Linked DNA regions of Homo sapiens: all the other regions are linked to region 1. The links are contacts of gene promoters, found by promoter capture Hi-C in blood cells and fetal thymus (Javierre and others, 2016). All regions are on one chromosome and are shown on one strand. The core of a region is centred on a gene start or on the middle of the fragment in contact, and the rest is flanking DNA. Distances in the headings are between cores, read along the strand shown. Region 1 holds the start of RPL35A (ribosomal protein L35a). Region 2 has its middle 21 kb from the start of LMLN-AS1. Region 3 overlaps LMLN (leishmanolysin like peptidase).

Region 1 (4,134 bases), core at 575-3,074:
ACTCATGCCACTACTTTCCCGCAGAGCTGTGTTCACAATTTGTTACGTTAGTGTCAGTTTCCCCCCACTAGACAACTGTTCCATGAAAGCAGCAACATGACAACGATGCTCACAGTTGTATCAGGTGCTAAGTCTCAGTGCTCAATAAGTATTTGTGGAACGAATAATACACGAGCAAACGAATGAAACTCACACTTAATGTGTTATTCCTCCCAGGAGGACTTCCATATAGAACTTTGACAAATCAATATCTAATAGTGAAATTTCTAGCACATTTCTTTCTGGGACAGGGAACACTGGGTGGGGTAGTAGGCTACAAGGTACAAGTTCTATCCTGTTGTATTTAAGAGAGGATCTGATTTTAAAAGTGACTTATATACATCTATTTCATACAACTTCGGAGTCATACTTTACTCTCTCTCATTCCTCATCCACCAGCAAATCTTGCCAGAATTTAAATATATTCAGAATTCCAGTACTCAATATCCTCTGTTTACACACCATCACCTCTCATCATAGTCACTACAGGAACCTATAATTATCTTCCTGCTGATACCCTTGCCTCCCTTCACTTTCAACACAGTGACTTTGTCAATATAGAAGTCAGATAGAGTCACCCTTCTGTTCAGGACCCTTAAATAGTTCCCATCTCAAAGCAGGGGAAGCCTCTTTTACATACTTCCCATCTCAAAGTGGGGAAAGCCTCTTTTACAGTGGCCTCTCTGCTTAATTTTCTTCACAGAAATTATCATCTTCTAACGTGTCATCTATTTTTACTTGCTCATTGTGTTGCTCCGCCTCGTAGGATATAAGCTCCACGAGGGCATAGATTTGTTTACTGCCGTGTCATCTTACACAAACCTTGGTACAGGGTAGTCATTCATTAAACTATGTGTTAAATAAATGAATGAATCCATAGGATAACCCAAATAAATATGCAATAATTCGGAAATGTGAATCTCTGGCGTCCACTAATCCACCTCTACAAGTATCTACGGAGGACCTACTAGGTGCGGACACGAGGCAGCTAAACGAGTTCTCCTAAAAGGGCGATAAAGCCTCCTGCAGGCAGTCCTCCTCATACCTCGGATCCAAAAAGAAGAATGGAGGTAAGAACTTAAGTCATTTCATTCATTTTTTTTTTCTTTTGTAGAGGTTGGGGGAGGTGGTCTCACTATGTTGCCCAGGCTGGTCTCGAACTCCTGGCCTCAAGCGATCCTCCCGCCTCGGCTTCCCAAAGAGCTGGGTTTACAGGCGTGAGCCACTGTGCCCAGTCTCATTTCTTGAAAGAGATAAATAAGTAGAGGGGAGAAAAGAAGTATAGAAAAAGAAAAAAGAGAAGGAAGAGGTCCTGCTGCCTTCGTGCTCCCGGCCTTTCTCTTCCATGCTAGATTAGGATCCCAGAATTTCCGTTCTGTCTATTGCTGTGTGTATCGAGAGAAAAGCACCCCACTGTTGGCAAATCAATCTTACAGTCAATCATTCTTTAGGCAGCGGGAACATCCTCCACTCAGGGTTCGCCTTTCCACCTACGGCGTCCGGGGACGCAGGAAGTAAACTAAGTTGTTTCTATGGCAACGCACAGCTTTGGCGGATTTAGCTGGCTACCATTTTGCCTTCCCTTGTTCCCAAGTAGTACATTTTGCAGCCTACCAAGATGAAAGGACTTAGGAAAATAATTGTAAGAGTGCTATTGAATGTGGCTTATTTCAGTGCGAAGCCGATTTCCGAGGATTGTTTTTCTGGCGTTTGGAGAAGATGCCTAAATTGAGGGCGGAGTCGAAAGATGTTTAATCCCACAAGGCCACGCGGCGGGGCCTCGTCCTTCTCTTACCGCCATCTTGGCTCCTGTGGAGGTGAGTGAAGGGTCTGCTGCTGAAATTTGGGGGCAAATAACCGGAGTAGGTTTGTTCCTGTGCCTTGGCGAGTCGCCGGTGCGTATCGGAGTCTCTGCCAGCCATTGATTTCTACGGGTTTCAAGAAGAGGGAGAACAGGATGGAGGAGATGTTGGGCTGATGGTGTTTGGTCCCCTGACACCCGGAGAACGGCTGCCCGGGTTATCCCAGTTAAATTCCTGGGCCTGAACGGAGTGAAACGATGTTTTTGTTCGTGTGCAGTTGTCCATGAGGCAGTGCTTCCTTCATCCGTTTCCTCCCAGTCCATACCTTCCTTGGCTTGTCTGACCAGTCTCTTTCCTCAGCTTTTCTCCCCCAGCCATTGCATAAAAGTCTTACGTGTGTGTTTCTCTTTAAGGCTTCATTTCTTTTCCTGAGTGTTGCCTACTGATAACGGCATGCATTTTCTCAGGCTTTTCTGAGAGTCATTTTTGTGACTCCTGTCCCTTAGTTTTGTCTTCATTCTGAAGTTTGCTTAGATACCAGCTGTTCTCTGAGGTTTGAATGTCTTGCCGGACCCTGCGTTTCATATGGATGTTCTGGCATTGTTGTCCCCGAACTCCTACATGAAACTCCCATCCAAAAGGAATTTGCTTTAGGGGCTTAAACGAGAGGGGACGAGGTGGGAAACTTGTGTGGCTTGGTTTTAAACTAATCTTTTTGTTTGTTTTAAGGCCTGCTGGGAACGGGACTTCTAAAAGGAACTATGTCTGGAAGGTACGCGTTTTAAATATAGTTCTTTATTTTTGTGTGTTAGACGTGAACGTAAATGCGAGCTTAAAATTGGCAAGAAAAAACTTAGATGTTTGCTCTGAGTAACTTTTGGGTGGGGGTGATTACAAGTCAGATTGGTTTTTTGAAGCTTATGTTTCATGTTGTGTATCTTTTGTGTCTTAGGCTGTGGTCCAAGGCCATTTTTGCTGGCTATAAGCGGGGTCTCCGGAACCAAAGGGAGCACACAGCTCTTCTTAAAATTGAAGGTGTTTACGCCCGAGATGAAACAGAATTCTATTTGGGCAAGAGATGCGCTTATGTATATAAAGCAAAGAAGTAAGTTTATGACACTGGTAGGTTTTGGGTTTTTGAGATCTGCCTCATTTTCTTTTTTATATAACGGAGTCTTGCTCTGTTGCCGAGGCTGGAATGCAGTGACTTGGTCTCCCTCACCGAAACCTCCGCCTCCCGGGTTCAAGCAAGTGTCCTGTCTCAGCCTCCCGAGTAGCTGGGATTACAGGCGCCGGCCACCACGCCCGGCTAGTTTTTGTATTATTAGTAGAGACAGGGTATTGCCATGTTGGCCAGGCTGGTCCCAAACTCCTGACCTTAGGTGATCCGCCCACCTCGGCCTCCCAAAGTGCTGAGATTACAGGCTTGAGCCACCGCGCCTGGCCTCATTATCCTATTGAAATAATAAACAAAAGATTTAGCTGAAGTACTTGGTATTGTTTTTTTGTTTTTGTGACAAGAGTCTCTGTTGCCCAGGTTGGAGGGCAGTAGCGCGATCTTGGCTCGCTGCAGCCTCTGCCTCCTGGCTCAAGCGATTCTCCTGCCTCAGCCTCCTGAGTAGCTGGGCTTACAGGGGTGTGCCACCACGCCCGGCTAATTTTTGTATTTTTACTAGAGAATGGGTTTCCCCATGTTGGCCAGGCTGGATTGGTATTGCTGTGGCTTCTATTTTGCGTCATTAAGGAACTTAATGGGGAGTTTTAGAAGGACGTTACTTCTGAGGGTGGTGTTGGATTTAGGTACCTTTTGCACTTGTAAGCAATAAAGGAGGTAATTCCTTATATTGTGATCCTTTTAAGGTTTCTAATTTTTTTTCTCGGCTCCTTTTGCCAGAATTTAAGGATTTTTAGAACACTTGTGCTTAATGCATTTTGTTAATGCCTTAAAATTATGGGTTTTTTTTTTTTTTTTTTTTTTTTTTGGAGACGGAGTCTCACTGTCACCTAGGCTGGAGTGCAGTAGCACAATATCGGCTCACCGCAACCTCCGCCTCCCGGGTTCAAGGGATTCTCCTGCCTTAGCCTCCTGAGTAGCTGGGATTACAGGCGGCCGCCACCATGCCTGTCTAATTTTTGTATATTTAGTAGAGATGGGGTTTCACCATTTTGGCCAGGCTGGTCTTAAACTCCTGAACTTGTGATCCACCCACCTCAGCCTCCCAAAGTGCTGGGATTACAGGCAGGAGCCACGGTGCCCCGCCCCTTGTTTTTTCTTTTCTTTCTTTTCTTTTTT
Region 2 (4,134 bases), core at 897-3,396, 110 kb after region 1:
CGACTCCTTTAGTTTCCTCATTTGGATGAATCTGCTCCATTTCCTTTATTCGATGCTGTGCTTGCCTTTGGTCCATCTGTACACTTTCTAAAGCCAATGTCTTTTCCCTGAGAGCATCTCTTATCTCATGGAGCTTACCTTTTAAGGTATTGAACTTCATCTGAGCTTTAGAAAATTGTTCAGTAAGCAACTCATTTTTATCTTTTAGTTGAGAAACAGTAGAACTTATTTTTTTATGTACGGAAAAATTATGTGCTCTCTGTAAAACAAGTTCTAGGTCTTTCGTTTCTAAACTTTCATTGTGCTCATTTATAGCAGCAGCCAGCCTAGAATGGAAGAATTCAACTTCAGCTTCCAGTCCATCTGTGTGGTGTTCTTCCTTCTCCAATTTTGAATTCAGCCTTGTATTCTCAGCTTTGAGGCCATTAAGCTGTTGACAATACTGGGACATCGTTTTTGTTGTCATTTCCTCATTGAGTCTTGCACTTTTTTCAAAGTTAGCATTTATTTCTCTAATACTCTTAATTTCCTGAATATATTCCTTTTCCTTTTTGACACTGTCATTTTTTATTGTGTATTATTCCTGTTTGAGTGTGGCAATATCTCCCTTCAATATGCAATTTGTATATATCACATCCTTCTTTTTTCTATAACTTTGAAAATCTTAAATAAAACAAAAGAAATTTTCAGCTAGCACTCAATAAAATAACATATCATGTTTATCTCTGAAGTGAAAGAACAACCTGTACATTCATGCAATTAAAAGTTGCTGTAAGTGGATATCCAACTGGAGAAAAAGTTGAAGCAAAACCTTGAACCTTAAAGAGCATAAATTTCAAAAAGTTCAAAACTTTATTTGAAGTCAATGAATCCATAAAACTAAAAACACACACATACACACTAGAGAACTGTTAAGAATATCAGAATTGGAAAAGCCTTTCTCTGAATTACAACAAACTCAAAGCATAAAGTAAAATATTAACAAATTTGACTAAATTAAAATATTGGAAAAAGGAAATTGCATTTATACTCTGATATCTAACCCAGATACCACCCTGTAGTAAGAGCTTTACCTCCACGTGTATTTGGACCGATAAAATTTCTCAAAGTTTTAGAAGTTCTGTTTCCCTGATAATATTCTATTGTGATTTGACTCAACATTTTTAGTCAGTTATAAGAATTTCATTTACTAAATCATAAATCTAGACATTGTACTAAGCACTTCTACGTACATACATTGATGAATTTCTTATCACAATTCTTAAAAAGAGAGGTTAAAAATATAAGCAAGCTGCAGGATGTTCCCAGGGCTTCTGACTCTACTTCTAGTTCTCCACCAGATCACAGTTACTTCTGTGGTGTAAATATATCAACACAAAAACAGAGAAACAAAAAGACACAGACATAAAATGTGTCTTCTGTCTTTGTCACCTGGATTCTCCATGAAATAGCCAGATTGAGAGGAGGTGACCTTGTGGGGCTTCAGAAACAGAAAAGAAGCTTTCCCTGTTCTGCACTAAGCTGTTATTTTCCCCACTGTCTTTTATCCTTATTTTTTCACTTGGATCCTGGGATATCAAAAAAGTGAAGGTGCTCACTGAAATAGAGGAACCAAAGTTTACCACAACTCAAGGAGCAGAGTGACACTGCTGAGTTGCTAGTGCAGAATCCTAGAAAATGAGATGTTCCCCAAGTTTACATTCAATCACCACAAAAGTTTATAGCTGGAAGATATACAGAATAGTTGTCTACTCTAGCCCCATTATCTACTTGATAATAGAAGTAAAACCAATAAATATTAAATAATTCACCCAAAGCTCCTAAGGTGGCATTACCTAGCACTTCATGGCACCAAAAGGGAAGATACAATTACATATTGCTGCATTACATAAATTACCAGATAAATATATCAAATTAGTCAAATAAATTAAAAGCGTGACTTTGGCAAAGCAATTTAATGCCTCAGAGGATGGCAGGAGGCCTCATCTGCTTTTAAGAAAATCTCTAGATTTTTGTCTATCTTTAGAACACAATGTACAGAACTCAGCTTTCCACTATAGAGTCAAATGATAAATATTTGGCTGAGAAGTTATGCTACTTACATGATAAAATCATACATGTCAAAACTTACCATATTTTATTAAACAACATAATGTAAAAGTGTGATTCAACAGAAACATTGGAGAGTGGTGATTTTTTTTAAATATGCAAAAGTATATGTATTTGTTTCCAAAAATATTTAAAATGGCCATTATGGAATTATAAGTTTAAACAGCTTGAGTCAGACAAATAAACTTGCATGCATGAAAGCACATTAAACAGACGCCTTTGGCTGATAATATTTGTTACAAGTCTCCAGGCTAGATACATTTTCATGTCTCTTCTCAGTCATTGTTTCCCTCCCATCGTGTTACCATTTTATCATTTAAATAAATGTAAGTCATCTTTAAATGAATACAGTAAGAAGAATCTAGAGCTTATTTCTTTAGCAATTTTCTTTATGTTTAGCTGATTCAGAAGGTCACATGGCATATGGCTAAATTATTTTCCCAGCCCATGTGCCACTTGGAAGACTGATAGTGAGACTCAGGTTGACTAATGAACAAAGATTATGAGAGTGTTTTCCAGAACTGTCATTTAGATAGCAGCACTGATCTACTTAGACACATAATTATGCATTTAGATAACCACACTGTAACTAGACACATGAGATTTTCTTGAGTAGAAAACCAGAATGAATCAGATAATTTATAAAAAGAGAAGCAGCAAGTGAACCTCTTTCTTTTTATAGTTAAGCTTTCTTTCTTCAAAGCCAGGAACTCTACTTGTAACATGCCCACCTCATTCTTAAGCCTTTGCATATCTTGCTGTAAGTCTTCTTCTAGATATGCTTTTGATGTTCTGTCACTATGGGGTGGAGAATAACTCACATTTTCTCATGCAGGTTTCATGCTTTTATAGCTATTAGCAGTGGAACTGTCTTATGTGGCTCCCTGAAACATACTTGCCAGTCATCTTCTAAGCTTTAGAAGAGCTTCTAAGTTCCATATGGCTTGTGGAACAAGTGCTTACTGGATTTTTGTTTTTGTAAGTGTCTGTAACAGCAGAAATACTGTGGCTTTCTATCTGTATCACATGCTTCATTTCTTTAGAGTAAACAAACCACAAATCAAACAGACTTTTTGGATCTCTAGACTGAGGCCAATGTCTAATGTCTAATTTCCAATTAACGGTATTTTGGTTTATATTTTTTTGTCATTTGCATATCAAACTCTTGGTCCTCTTTCATTTCAACCATAACTACTGGGTTCCCTAATTTTTCTATTTCTGTATCATTACAACAATTCTCTTCATCTCTGAGAAACAGGCTACATGTCTGGATAGTTACAAGTTTTACAGTCTGATTTATTTTCATTTGAATAAAGCTTAGAAGATGACTGGCAGGTGTGTTTGAGGGACCCAGAGTATAAATACAATGAAAAGACAGGTTTGTGATGTTCTCCTCCTGTTCAGGCAATGCCTGGGATACTACAGAGTTCGACACTCCAAGATGCATCTGCTTCCTTGCAGTCAGGGACATGATTCATTGGGTTAGAGGGCACTTCCTTTAATTTTGTCCCTCTTTAGAGTAACTATGTAAGAGCTCTTCCTCAGGACAAACAGTAATTTTGGATTTTTCAAAACTTTCACCAATTTTCAGTTGAACTTTCTTGTAATTAATTTTAAAGGAAGCCCTGAATATACAGATAAACACTCTTTATCACAATTCTTACTCAGTTCTGGTTCTTGAGACATTTTTTTGCAGGTGCAAAAGTGGAAAATTAATTTGCTTGTTTTGTTTCTCAGATGTCTTTTCTGTTAGGGTGCATGTTTTAAAATTAACTTTATTCTGAATTAAGTATGAATAAAAAAATAGAAAATAATTAAAATGTAACTGTAAAACTTAATCTATGTTTTGCTATCCCTAAGTTACTGGATTATAACTAAGAAGTAAAAAATAGTTTGCCTTGGCTTAACATAGGAGAAAAACATGAACCAGCAAGCTTAACTCTCACTGTTAGTTTGGACTAAACTTAATTCATTATGAATTAAATCTGCCAGAAATGGGCTCACAGATGATATGTAGTATTCTAA
Region 3 (4,134 bases), core at 715-3,214, 81 kb after region 1:
CATGCCTGTAATCCCAGCACTTTGGTTGGCTGAGGCTAACACTTGAGGTCAGGAGTTCGAGATCAGCCCAGGCAACATGGTGAAACCCTGTCTCTACTAAAAATACAAAAATTAGCCGGGCATGGTGGCCGCCTGCCTGTGATCCCAGATATTCAGGTGGCTGAGGCATGAGAATCGCTTGAACCTGGGAGATGGAGGTTGCAGTGAGCCAAGATCGCACCACTGCACTCCAGCCCGGGCAATGGAGTGAGACTACATGTAAAAACAAACAAACAAACAGAAAAACACACAAAAAACTAGAGCCTCTGTTATTACTTCCCTAATGTTTATTACTTCTTCCCAGAGTCTTCACTTTCAATTCTTAGTTGTTGTTTTGTTGGGGGTGGAGGAGTCAGGGGAGACTTACTATTTGCTTTCTTATTTTTTTTTATTATTATTACTTTTTTGAGATAGATTCTTGTTCTGTCTCCCAGGCTGGAGTGCAGGTGGCATGATCCCTCGGCTCACTGCAACCTCCGCTTCCCAGGTTCAAGTGATTCTCCTGCCTCAGCCTCCCAAGTAGCTGGGATTATAGGCGCCCGCCACCATGCCTAGCTGTTTTTTTTTATTTTTAGTAGAGACAGGGTTTCACCATGTTGGCCAGGCTGGTCTCAAAATCCTGACCTCAAGTGATCTGCCTGCCTGGGCCTCCCAAAGTGCTGGGATTACAGGCGTGAGCCACTGCACCTGGCCTGCTTTTTTATTTTTAAAAAGCTTATATTATTCTTTCATAAGGTTTGAATTTCAAATGTTAGCTGTTGACTTTGGAAAATAAGAATTTAGTTGGTTCGCCTCGTCCTCTTGCTGTGTTCACTTCCTCTTTCCCCATCGTACACTTCTTGTTTCCCATCCTCCCAGTGGTGATTATGGATAAATACGTATTCACTGTTTACATTACCAGGACTATGCAGACGTGGCGCCTGGTAGCATGCAATCATTACTTCCCCGTTCTCCCCAGTATTTCGTTTTCTCTGGATTTAAGACCTTGTTTTTTTGCAATTAGTTTTCTTTGTATTTAGCACTAATTCAATTCTAAGCTCTTCTCCCAGTTGGGCTCATCTCCTTTCAGTAGAACCAGATACCTGAGGTATTCTATCCATTTCATCTTGAGGAAATCTCTTCTGGACATTTCTGGCCTGTGCTAATCTCGACTATATAATCCTTATGTTGGCAGCACAGCTGGCATCTTGGGATCTCGAGTCAGGATCATCCTGGAGGTCCCTCTGGTCCCTCTGTCTCTCTCATATTGGATCCCCTCCTTCATGGATTTTGTGTCATATTCTTTTTTGGATTTTTTTTATTTTAATGGAACATATCTTCTAGTGGAGATTTGAGGAGTATGTGACGGAGAACAATGTTGAGACTTGCATGTCTGAAAGCATCACTGTTCCACTGTGACGCCTGCTGACAGCGTGGGAAGGCGGGACTTCATCTCTGCCCTCAGGGTCTTCAGCTAGTTTCCACCGTGATGTGACGCCTGCTGACAGCGTGGGAAGGCGGGACCTCACCTCTGCCCTCAGGGTCCTCAGCTAGTTTCCACCGTGACGCCTGCTGACAGCGTGGGAAGGCGGGACCTCACCTCTGCCCTCAGGGTCCTCAGCTAGGCCTGAGAATGAAATAGGCATAAGCCCGATGAACAGGAGGAAAACATACACATTTATTTAATCTAAGTTTTACATGACACAGGAGCCCACATGAGTAAATGAAAACTCAAAGAAGTGTGAAACCTATATACTTTTATACTACATTGAACAAAGGGAGACAGTTACAGAAAAGTAAAATGTATGCGGAGGCTAAAGGAAGATAAGAATTATTTTAAGAAGGTCTGTTTGTACCAAATTCTTTGGCTTTGACTCCCCATATTGGTGATAAAAATGTTTGTTTTCTCCTGGAAAAGGAAGGGTATTATTCATGTGGGAGTTGTGTCTTCTGCTTTCAGGAGGAAGGGGGATGTCAGAACAGTCTTGCTGGGTCTGCTGTGTTGAAGTCCCTTTAGCTGGAAACCTTTGTGCCAAAACAGCACATTTTGGGGTGGCGTGTTCTGCCGTCCTTCAATAGCTTGGGTGGGTATAGCTTTATTTTTGAAAATTATTTTCCTAATGGATGATTGGGTGCAGGAAAAAAAGAAAGAAAATTATTTTCCATCAGAATTCTGAAAGCATTTTTCCTTTGTGTGCTGACTGTCAGTGTCATTCTGAGTTTCAATTGCCAGAATCTTTTTTCTTTCTTCTCTGGAAGCTGTAAATTCTTAATTTTAACTTCGCATACCACATCCTCATCTGCCACAAGCCCCAGTATTCCAAAATTTAATGGGTTGATTCTATTTTTGGTGATCATTAACAGCCTGTTCATATTCAAGAAGTGACTGGAGCCTGGCACAGTGGCTCACACCTGTAATCACAGCACTTTGGGAGCCCGAGACAGGCGGATCACTTGAGGTCAAGAGTTTGAAAGCAGCCTGGCCAACATGATGAAACCCCTCATCTACTAAAAATACAAAAATTAGCCCGGTGTGGTGGTGGGCGCCTGTAATTCCAGCTACACAGGAGGCTGAGGCATGAGAATCACTTGAACCCAGGAGGTGGAGGTTGCAGTGAGCTGAGATGACACTATTGTACCACAGCCTGGGCGACAGAGTGAGACTCTGACTCAAAAAAAAAAAAAAAAGAAAAGAAAAGTGCCTGGAAGCCAGTTTGGAAGCTCTGAGCACACACATAGGGCTTGTTGACTGTGGTCTCCCTATGGGGCTCCTTTCTTACAAAACCTTTGATGTCCGTCCTTTTGACGGGTCAGATTGGTCAGAGAAACTGCCAGTGACCCGCCTAAGTTTATATGCTGTCAGAGTTCTAGGAAGGAAGTCGATTTTGAATGCTTTAACCTGTAAACTTCGAGTCCTTATTTTCATGATGGCATCCCAGCTCTCTGCTGTACTTAGTTTTCCCCAGAACAGAAAAACTCTGTTTTACCCTTTCCAAAAAATAAATCTCCAGTATGCTGGTGTATTAGTCCATTTTGCGTTGCTGTAAAGGAGTATCTGAGGCTGGGTAATTTATAAAGAAAAGAGGTTAATTTTGGCTTACAGTTCTGCAGACTACAGGAAGCATAAGTGCTGTCATCGGCTTCTGGTGACGGCTCAGGAAGCTTACAGTCATGGCGGAAGGCAGAGTGGGGGCAGGCTTATCACATAGAGCGGGAACGAGAGAGGAGGGAGCTCCCGACCTCTTGAACAAGCAGATCTCTGGGGAACTTATTCCTGTGGGGAGGGCACCAAGCTATTCATGAGGGATCCATCCCCATGACCCAGACACCTCTCACTAGGCCCCACATCCAACACTGGGAATCATATTTCAACAGAAGATTTGGACAAATACCCAAACTATATCAGCTGGGTTCGGAACGAACTGGTCCAGCTGGTCGCAGTGAGGGAGAGGAATGCTGGCGTCTGTCTCTGAAACAGACGTTTGTCTAATCCTTTTGATTGTAGCTCTTACTTCTTGGTACCAGGTGTGGCTGTGGCAGTCCTGAGCCCTCTTGTGTTCTGCAGATCAGTTTCTTCCTGGCTCTTCCTGTTGCTGGATTTTGATCCAGCTTTCCTGAGTCTGTTATGTCTGCTGCTACCTGTACATCTACCCTCCTGCCCACACTTAATTCCCAGAATTCCACAATGAGAATACTTCAACTTCAGCAAGGGAGTTTTCCTCTTGTCCTATCAACACTCTCATATAATTCTCATCTCTAAGCCATGTGCATTCTGCTTCCCAACCTGTAACATCTGCCCGGCAGTAGTCCAAATCCTGTGTACATCCTTAGGATGCAAATGCTGTCTTCCATGAAAGTTTCTAATATTTGTTCTTGTTTCTACCATTTATTGACTCTTAATCATAAAATAGTCTGGTACTGTTCATTTTTTGCTTTTTCTTCTAATTTCAAAATACAGTTAGTATTTTATAAAAAAAATTATTATTTTTATTATCTTTTTTTTTTGAGATGGAGTCTCACTCTGTCACCCAGGCTGGAGTGCAGTGATGGGATCTCAGCTCACTGCAACCTCGGCCTCCTGGGTTCAAGTGATTCTTATGCCTCAGCCACTCGAGT

What was found. Contacts are between HindIII fragments. The CHiCAGO score rates a contact against its expected background, and 5 or more counts as called.
Region 2: a contact is called between a fragment that was not itself captured here and the fragment with the promoter of RPL35A in region 1, in 1 of 17 cell types (naive B cells). The highest score is 7.0, in naive B cells.
Region 3: a contact is called between a fragment that was not itself captured here and the fragment with the promoter of RPL35A in region 1, in 1 of 17 cell types (megakaryocytes). The highest score is 6.0, in megakaryocytes.

The regions. Positions count from the first base shown.
Region 1 is chr3:197,948,366-197,952,499 of GRCh38, forward strand. It overlaps RPL35A (ribosomal protein L35a), which reads left to right and starts at 1,825. Exons shown (of 5, transcript NM_000996.4): 1 at 1,825-1,856; 2 at 2,571-2,613; 3 at 2,794-2,946. The coding sequence starts at 2,603. All of the region lies in intron 2 of DRC9 (dynein regulatory complex subunit 9), which reads right to left. RefSeq lists enhancers at 1,228-1,447, 1,527-2,309, 3,093-3,874. The HindIII fragment of the contact is 8,868 bases long and covers 1-2,756 here.
Region 2 is chr3:198,058,699-198,062,832 of GRCh38, forward strand. It overlaps the pseudogene ANKRD18DP. Among named protein-coding and RNA genes, the nearest start is that of LMLN-AS1, 21 kb to the left of the region's middle. The HindIII fragment of the contact is 1,296 bases long and covers 1,499-2,794 here.
Region 3 is chr3:198,029,412-198,033,545 of GRCh38, forward strand. All of the region lies in intron 15 of LMLN (leishmanolysin like peptidase), which reads left to right. Among named protein-coding and RNA genes, the nearest start is that of LMLN-AS1, 8.0 kb to the right of the region's middle. The HindIII fragment of the contact is 2,427 bases long and covers 752-3,178 here.